Linked DNA regions of Homo sapiens: region 2 is linked to region 1. The links are contacts of gene promoters, found by promoter capture Hi-C in blood cells and fetal thymus (Javierre and others, 2016). All regions are on one chromosome and are shown on one strand. Each heading gives the region's core, a stretch centred on a gene start or on the middle of the fragment in contact. The rest is flanking DNA. Distances are from core to core; before and after follow the strand shown.

Region 1 (4,609 bases), core at 1,353-3,852:
TTTTGGAATTCAGGAAAAGCCAACCAGCATTAACGTCAATACAGACCTTAAGTCTGATAAGAAACACTTACAATGTATTCTCTCTAAAGCCTGCTACCCAGAGGCTTCATTTGCATAATAAAATCTTGGTCTCCACTACCCCTTATCATAACCCAGACATTCGTTTCTATTGATAATAACTCAACCAATTGCCAATCAGAAAATTTTTCAATCTACTTATGACCTGGAAGCCCCCCACGCCCTTCGAGGTGTCCCTCCCTTCTGGATTGAGCCATCATAAATCTTACATGTATTAATTCATGTATTATTCTCCCTAAATTGTATAAAAGCAAGCTGTTCCCCAACCACCTTGGGCACAGGTCTTCAGAACCTCCTGAGGCTGTGTCATGGGTGCATTCTTAACCTTGGCAAAATAAACTTTCTAAATTGACTGAGACCTGTCTCAGATACTTTGGGGTTCACAGTATCAAGGGCCTTAAAAATGTTTATACCCTTGAGCCCAACAGTTCTATTTCACTTTCAACAGTCTAATGAGAAAGCCACTTAGTCAAACTGATTGAGAATAACAAAAAAAGTATAAATGCTTCACTTTCAACAGTTCTAATTCCTACTTCTAGACAGGGAGCCCAAGGAAATAAGAGATAGAACAAAGGGACTCCCTTTGCAATGATAAAACAAAACAAAACATCAGAAAAACAAAAAACTAATAGGAGAAAAATAAATTATGGTCATTCATGTGATGCATTATTTTGCAACATAAGACAATTATGAGGCCAGGTGCGGTGGCTCACACCTGTAATCCCAGCACTTTGGGAGGCCAAGGCGGGCAGATTGCCTGAGCTCAGGAGTTCAAGATCAGCCTAGGCAACACGGTAAAACCCTGTCTCTACTAAAATACAAAAAATTAGCTGGGCGTGGCTGCGTGCGCCTGTAGTCCCAGCTACTCCAGAGGCTGAGGCAGGAGAGTTGCTTAAGCCCAGGAGGTGGAGGTTGCAGTGAGCCATGATCGCGCCATTGCACTCCAGCCTGGGTGACAGACAGAGCAAGACTCCGTCTCAAAAAAAAAAAAAAGAAGAAAAGAAAGTTATGCTTTCAAAGAATGTCCAATGACATAGAGAAATGCTGTTTATATTATATATATATATAAAAATATAGATTAAAATAACAAATTCATTGTAAAAAAATCATTAATGGCTATTTCCAAATTATAGAGTTAAAGATGCTATTTATTTTCCTTTTTGCAAATTTTCAATATTCTCTAAATTGAATATTCTCTATCAAGGGGTGTATATAACTGTTAAAATTAGGGATTTTGGGGTTTTTTATTTTTTTTTGAGACGGAGTTTCGCTCGTGTTGCCCAGGCTGGAGTGCAATGGCACGATCTCAGCTCACCACAACCTACACCTCCCGGGTTCAAGCGATTCTCCTGCCTCAGTCTCCCGAGTAGCTGGGATTACAGGCATGTACTACCATGCCCGGCTAATTTTGTATTTTTAGTAGAGACGGGGTTTCTCCATGTTGGTCAGGCTGGTCTCGACCTCCCGACCTCAGGTGATCTGCCTGCCTCGGCCTCCCAAAGTACTGGGATTACAGGCGTGAGCCACCACCGCGTCCGGCCTAAAATTAGGTTTAAAAAAGTAAATGCTAAATTAAATAATTGGCCCAAATAACCTAGATTCCAGGTAACTCAACTTTGTTCTTGGAATCCATTCTTCTAATATCCAGGATGTGGGCAACTTAAACAATTATAAACTATATTAGAAATAACAACATAAGACACATATTCCAACAAGAACGTTATAGAGCTGTAATATGTTTTTAATTATTAAGCAGAAAGGTCAAGTCTATGTTCAATAACAATACGTTCCTTGGGATCAAACAATATGTTCCTTGGGATCAAAAGTTGCATCTTTCATCATGCAGTCCTTGGGATTAACTGCTAAATAAATCACCCTTATCAGCTATTGTTTTACTGCAGAAGCTACTGCTAAAGGAAAAGACTTCATGATATTAACTCAAGAAAGTGCAAAATGCCTTATAAACAAGTGCACAATTTCCCTCCCAGGTTCCTGTATCTGGAAGGGCCCCCAAGATCTAGGTCTTAGCCCCAGCTGGTTACTAACTGGCTGGTGGCCATGGATTCTGAACCTCGGTTTCTCCACCTGTGAAATAAGGGGGTTTACCGGGATGGACTGACATGCTACAAAAACGTTATTTCGACTTCACTTTTATAGGAGTCCAGGGAAGCCTGCACCAGCCAGCTAGCTCCAAAACCAGGATGGGCGGGAAATCCCCGCAACGAGATGCAGCCCAGAAAAGCTAAAGGAATATTCAGAGATTTGGCGTAAGTCCTCAGCTCTCCAGCGGACCACCTGGTCTCCTTCCCGGGCCACCCTTGCAAGGACCAAGTGTGGCGGGATGTGGCTGAGCCCCCTCAGTAAAGGAAAGGTCTCGCTGCCCCTCCCCTCATCCCGAAAGGCCACCAGCGGCAATGCGAAGTGATTGCCTGCTCTCCGGAAGCCCGGCCTCCCCGAAGGTCCCTCCACGCACCGCCGCCCTCACCCGGGACTCACCAGGGGTCCGGTGCCATCCTGCAGACTCCGCCCGCCGCTCGGACTCTTCCTGCTCTTAGCAGCTGACTACGGCGGCCCGCGCGGCTCACTCCCCGCAGTTCGTCCCGTGCGCGACCGGAGCCTGGAGTTTGCAAAGTGAGTAGCTAGGGCCTCAGAACTATAATCAGAGAAAGCAAAGCGCTCCCCTGCGGACAGTACACTGGAGCAATCTACTCCCACCAAGAGACGCGAACTGCTAAGCTCAGTTAAAATTGTTAAATAGAAACAAAGCATTTTCCCAGGAAGGTGGGAGCGCTGCAAGACCTCTCTGTAGCAGTTACTTAAAAATTTATCCTGCTTCAAAAACAAAACAATAAACAAAACACTAGATTGCGGTGAGACTTGCACGCTGCGTAAACTCACTACAACCTACTTTAAGTTAACTTTATGATATGTAAATTATACCTCAACGCTTTTTAAAAAATCTTTAAAATTTTTTTCACACTGCTCCAAACAGGGGCCCAAAGAAGTATCAATTATATATATTTTTTATAGCAGCCTTCCTATCAGTCCTGTACGCCTGATTACATATTTTTTAAATGCCATTCATTCGGTGCTTGATTTTAGAGTTACTAAGAAGTCACAGACTCTACACAAGGGGATGGAGGAATTAGTTCTGCGCAGTTAGTGCCATCCCCTAAATTTCCAGAGAAATAGCACAAAAAAAAAGAAGAGGAGTCCCACCCCATCTCTCTTCCAGTCCCCATACCCCTTCATTTCCAAGAATGCTAATGAACTCGAACTCGGCAGGCTGGGTTTCTGCGCGGGCGTGGAGCTGGAGCGCATGCGCTCGTCCGTTACCATAACGACCAGAAGACGCTGCAGCCACTAGGGAGGAGAGCAAAGTAATCAGAACCTCCCAAGGATGGATAACAAAATTTCGCCGGAGGCCCAAGTGGCGGAGCTGGAACTTGACGCCGTGATCGGCTTCAATGGTGAGGCCTCCAGCATCTTTGGGCTGGCTGGTTTAGGAATTCGGAGGACGTGTAGTGCAAACAGGAATAGTGAGACACCGGGGACACCTGAAAGGCAGTGTGGGACAACGGCAGGAGCCCTGGCCAGGGACACGCACAGGAGGACCCGCACAGCCTGACCTGCCCCAAGGCCTTGGAGAGTCACTTCCTCGATCCAAGCCTCAGGGAGTGAGATGGTTTTTACCAGCTCGGACAAGCGCCAGCACCTAAAAGGGACCAAATGCCTCTTCCCCAGGCGGGCCGGATGAGTACGGGTGGTTGTAACCCTTCTCCCACTAGGTCAGCCCTTCCTGGCTCTGAACCCCACGCCGCTCGCAAAGCCCTAGGCTCCTTCGTAACCACACAGAAGGATGCTGTCTGTGTCGGCCCCTGGGACCAGCTAGGAAATCTGCTAAAATCCCAACTGGCGTACCAGTGAGAAAGGGCTGGGAGGGAACGTGTGTTTGAGCAACCCCCTGAGGGGATGTTGTTGGTCCTCTAATCCTAAGGAAGGTTTCTAAATGATGAGGATTTCAGACCAGGACAGAAGGGGAAGGGGACGCCAGGGGGAGCTAAAGCGGAGAGAAAAAGGGACTGGGCCGCTCCGCTGAAATCTTATTTGTGACTGCCTATTGTTTTGAAGATTCTGGGAAGAAAAAGCTGTGGGGTTTTATTGTTCGTTTTGAGGGGTTTTGGTTTTTTGAGGGATGAGAAAACAATGAATTAGATTTTAGGAGAAGCAAAACTTTTCAAAAATGTGTGTTGTGATGCCTGAAAGCTTTAAGAATGTGGATGCAGAACAATCACTGTCTAAAGTTTTAAGCATACTCTAGGACTTAGCTCTTGACTCTTGGTTTAACTTTAACAGTCTCCAATAGAAAGTGAGTGCTTTATACATTTCGGATATCAGATATCTTGAGAGTTGGTTACAAGATCATTGAGAAACAATTGAGCAGCCTACAGTGGGTTGCATAATGTCACTTGTTGAGCCAATGTAGAACCACACACATAGAACTCTGCAACTGAGGCCGGGGGCAGTGGCT
Region 2 (4,712 bases), core at 550-3,049, 170 kb after region 1:
GGGGAAAGCCTGTGAAGTTATTTCCGGGCTGGAAGGGCCAATTCAATGAATACCTCACCCACCATGCTGTCACAGACATTTCTATCTTCTTTTGTAATTATTACTATTTTTTTTTTGAGATGGAGTCTCACTCTGTTGCCCAGGCTAGAGTGCAGTGGTGCAATCTCAGCTCATGGCAAGCTCCACCTCCCAGGTTCATGCCATTCTCCTGCCTCAGCCTCCTGAGTAGATGGGACTACAGGTGCCCGCCACCATGCCTGGCTAATGTTTTGTATTTTTAGTAGAGATGGGGTTTCACCGTGTTAGCCAGGATGGTCTCGAACTCCTGACCTCCTTGAACTCCTTGGCTTCCCAAAGTGCTGGGATTACAGGTGTGAGCCACCGTGCCTGGCCTAATTGGTTTTTAGTTACGTACCACCATACTAAAGTTATTGTTTTGCTACTTGCTTTCTTTTCCAACTTAAAATTTTGGAGCTTTTCCCAGATCTCTATAGATTGGCCCTATAGATTCTTTTCAAATGTTGCTTATAACTTCTTAATGCAAATGAACCATAGTTTGTCCCCCAATTCAGGAGCATGTAGATTTTTTTTTTTTCGGACACAGGGTTGAACTCTGTTGCCCAGGCTGGAGTGTGGTGGCATGATCTCGGCTCATCGCAACCTTGACGTCCCAGGCTCAAGCAATCCTCCCACTTCAGCCTCCTGAGTAGCTGAGACTATAGGCATGCACCACCATACCTGGCTAATTTAAAAAAAAATTTTTTTGTAGGGATGGGGGGGTCTCACTTTGTTGCCCAGGCTGGTCTTGAACCCCAGGTCTCAAGGGATCCTCTCACTTTGGCCTTCCAAAATGCTGGGATTACAGGCGTGAGTCACCGTGCCTGGCCATAGATTGTTTCTAAGCTTTTGCCATTGAAAACAAAAATGTCCTAAAAAGAAACAGTGTCCTGAACATCATTCTTTATATATCTTCTAGGAGAAAAACTTTGTCTTGTTACATTAAATTATGTTCTGGTGTGAAGGAATTTACATATTTAAAGATATCTTTTATTGGAGAAAGAGAGTGGCTAGTGGGCGAATGTAGAGGGAGCGTCCTCAGGATGTGGCCTGCCCTTTTGCAGATGCCGACTACTGGAGTGTGTTATTAGCCTTGTAATTTTCTCCGATGTTTGCCATGAATGAAGCACTTGAGCTGAGTATCAATGATAACGTTTTCAGAATGGCATGTGTCTCCTTGGGTTTGACATTCCCATTCTCTCATGTGCTGTCCCTTAGACAACATATTCTCCACGACAACCTTTTTTTTTTTTTGAGATGGAGTCTCACTCTGTTGCCCAGGCTGGAGTGGAATGGCGCAATCTCGGCTCACTGCAAACTCCACCTCCCAGGTTCAAGTGATTCTCCTGCCTCAGCCTCCAGAGTAGCTGAGATTACAGGCACGTGCCACCACGCCCGGCTAGTTTTTGTATTTTTAGTAGAGATGGGGTTTCACCATATTGGCCAGGCTGGTCTCAAACTCCTGACCTTGTGATCCGCCCACCTTGGCCTCCCAAAGTGCTAGGATTACAGGCGTGAGCCACCACGCCCGGCTGACAATCTCTTGTAGGTGACCTGGTATCTTCATTTTCCTTTCAGGGACTGAGGACGCTGGGCAAGACACCGTCAACACAAGGCTCTTCACCAGCCTGGGGGAAAACCAGACATCCGCATCCACACCTGAAACAGGGCAAGCCGCCTCCTGACGAAAGCCCTGTGAAACACAAGAAGCATTCCTTCAGGATTCTTCTAAAGATAAAAGAATCTCGGAGTAGGGCTTCTATTAGGTAAATGGCTTATGATAACCTCATGTGAGAGGTTAAACAAAGGTTACAGGGCTTAGAACAGCACTGAGGGGACTGGGCGGCTACTCGAGAGAGATCAACCAAGGACTGGGAGGTGAGTTTTTGTCCCAGACACGTGCTCATTGCAGTGACTTTGAGCAAGTCACCTCATCCCCCTGTGTCTTATTTTCATTACATGGCATATGTAGAAAGAGGATCTTCTAGCTCGGACAATTGTTTGATTGTACTGGGAAGTGGTTAAGGCTCTGGAGTCACACTTTCTGGATTTGATGACCAGATCCACTGTTTACTAAATGCAGGATTTGGAAAATTGCTCATCTATAAAATGAGCTTGATGAGGCAACCTACCTCGCTGAACTGTGATGAGGATTACACTCATTGGGAATATTCACAATAGTGCCAAACATATAAAAGTGTTCAATAAATGTTCATTTTTATTATGTCTATAACCTTCTAATCAAAGAGAGCATTGTAAATCTTAAGGGAAGACTCAGGAAGAATGTAGAACAAAAGTGAGTGTTTCGGTTGGGACATAAGGCACCTGCAGAGGAAATTCTTCTATGATGAGGAGAACTTGGGAAGGACTTAATTTTATCTTAAAACCCAGAGAGCTCTTCAATTCAGCTATGATGTGTTTTCCTTGCCAGGACCCTGGATCTCAAAGAGGAAGGGAAGAAGAACACTCTTTGACTTTCTCCTCTTTGTGTGGATGTTGGATTTTCTGCTGGGAACCAGACTGGCACAGAGGAAGGTGAGACTGTTTTCTTTCCACTCCTTTACTCAGTCCCTGATGTTGGTGCTATAAGTAGCAGTCAGAGTCCAATTAGGAGACAGAAACCACACAGTAATTTGAACAAGCTTAATATAAATATACCTTATTAATTACAACATGTTACAGCATAACAACACTATAACAGATTATTGAGGAATTGGCTCATAATAAGTAAAGAGAATTCTAAACAATGTGGGAGGGTCGGACGCAGTGGCACACACTTGTAATCCCAGCACTTTGGGAGGCTGAGGTGGGTGGATCATTTGAGGTCAGGCGTTCAAGATCAGCCTGGCCAACATGGTAAAACCCCGTAGTAGAGGCACGCACTTGTAATCCCAGCTACTCAGGAGGCTGAGGCAGGAGAATCGCTTGAACCCTGGAGGTGGAGGTTGCAGTGAGCCGAGATCTCACCATTGCACTCCAGCCTGGGCGAAAAGAGTGAAACTCCATCTCTTAAAAAAAAAAAAGAATGTGGGAATAGCAGATATACCTCTAGGGGCTCAGATAGAGTATTCAGGAATGAGACCCTACATCCCCACGACTGGGGTGCCAATCTATGGCCACTGGTTGGAGACAAGTTGAGTGGTACTGCACCCTGGAAGGCGGGAAATCTGCCTTCCAGGATGTTGTAGGGGAAGCTATTCAAAGGAGGTTTCTCCCAGGAGGCACTCCAATACAGTACTCCAAGGGGGTTGCTGGGGAAGCTGCTGGCTGCCATGCACCGCACAAGCTGGATATTGGAAAAGCCACCTGCATTAAGGGAGCCTGCTGTTGGACATGCTGCCTCTGCTGCAGGAGCTGGGCACTGGGGAAGCCCTGCCTGTGCGGCAGGGGCTTGCTGAGAGAAGCACTCCAGCACCCAGGCTGAAATCCCTCTCTGGCGCCCTCTACTGACAAAACTTGACATCATACTATCTGGAAATGGAAAAATATCTAAAGGGCTCAGATCAATTTTCTTTTCTTTCTTTTTTTTTTTTTTTTTTTTTTTTTTTTTTTTTTTTTGACAGAGTCTCACACTATTGCCTGGGCTGGAGTGCAATGGCATAATCTTGGCTCACTGCAACCACCACCTCCCGAGTTCAAGCGATTCTCCTGCCTCAGCCTCCTAAGTAGCTGTGATTACAGGCACCCGCCACCACGCCTGGTTTATTTTTTGTATTTTTTTTTTGTAGAGATGGGGTTTCACTATGTTGGCCAGGCTGGTCTTGAACTCCTGACCCTGTGATCCGCCCACCTCGGCCTCCCAAAGTGCTGGGATTACAGGCGTGAGCCACCACGCCCGGCCAGGGCCCAGATCAATTTTCATAGAGCCGACAGTGAAGCATAAATTAGAAGGCAATACATTGATACCTGGCACAAGTAAATTTTTCTCATTCTTACTTTGTAGATGAATGGGCATCTCTTACGGGGTCTCATCTTTCTGTAGGTAGCTCAACTTCTGTGCCCCGTCCTCCAGTCTTCCAGAGATAATACTCCTTTAGCTCTGCAGGGACCAAACGCCCAACCAGTGATCAGTTCCAATAGTCCTTTGTGCTGTTTGGCATCTGTTCACTGGTCTGACTGAAATTCTCCTTTTTTACTGACACCTGAAGAGATCCCTTTCTTAATTTTGAGCTTTCCTATATCTTAAAAATTTTGTTGTTTTATTTTATTTCTGGAATCAGAGGAAGAAGTCCTTTAATTGAATTCAGCCTGCCATATTGGCTGAAAGTTGACTCAGAAGTAGTGGGCAACAAAGAAAATGAACATAGACACAGAGATGGGGGAAAGAATATCTTACATGTTGGTATGCAAAGTAATGATGTTGTTTTGTAAACACAAAAACAGACGGGACCACCTCTTAGTATTTTCCTCATAGACCAGATAAATTTTGAGTCTGAAATGGCCTCTTGGTTTCCTAAACAAGTGAATATCCTTGCAAAAGAAGAGAAAACGCCCTATATTCTATATGAAATGTTTACTGCTTTTTATTAACTATTAACCAATGTATGACCATAGTAAAAAATTTCAAATATATGGAAGAGTTGAAAGAAGAAATAATGCCATGTGCACAATATAGTCAGAATCCCAATAACCTTCCCAGAAGTCACTATTACCAG

The links. Contacts are between HindIII fragments. The CHiCAGO score rates a contact against its expected background, and 5 or more counts as called.
Region 2: a fragment that was not itself captured here is called in contact with the fragment with the promoter of STX8 in region 1 in 1 of 17 cell types (megakaryocytes); the score reaches 5.1 in megakaryocytes.

Annotation. Positions count from the first base shown.
Region 1 is chr17:9,573,218-9,577,826 of GRCh38, forward strand. STX8 (syntaxin 8) reads right to left here and starts at 2,603. Exons shown (of 8, transcript NM_004853.3): 1 at 2,575-2,603. The coding sequence starts at 2,591. CFAP52 (cilia and flagella associated protein 52) reads left to right here and starts at 3,425. Exons shown (of 14, transcript NM_145054.5): 1 at 3,425-3,548. The coding sequence starts at 3,479. RefSeq lists enhancers at 2,586-2,765, 3,558-3,687. The HindIII fragment of the contact is 4,659 bases long and covers 1-4,342 here.
Region 2 is chr17:9,741,597-9,746,308 of GRCh38, forward strand. No RefSeq gene overlaps it. Among named protein-coding and RNA genes, the nearest start is that of DHRS7C, 48 kb to the right of the region's middle. The HindIII fragment of the contact is 1,796 bases long and covers 902-2,697 here.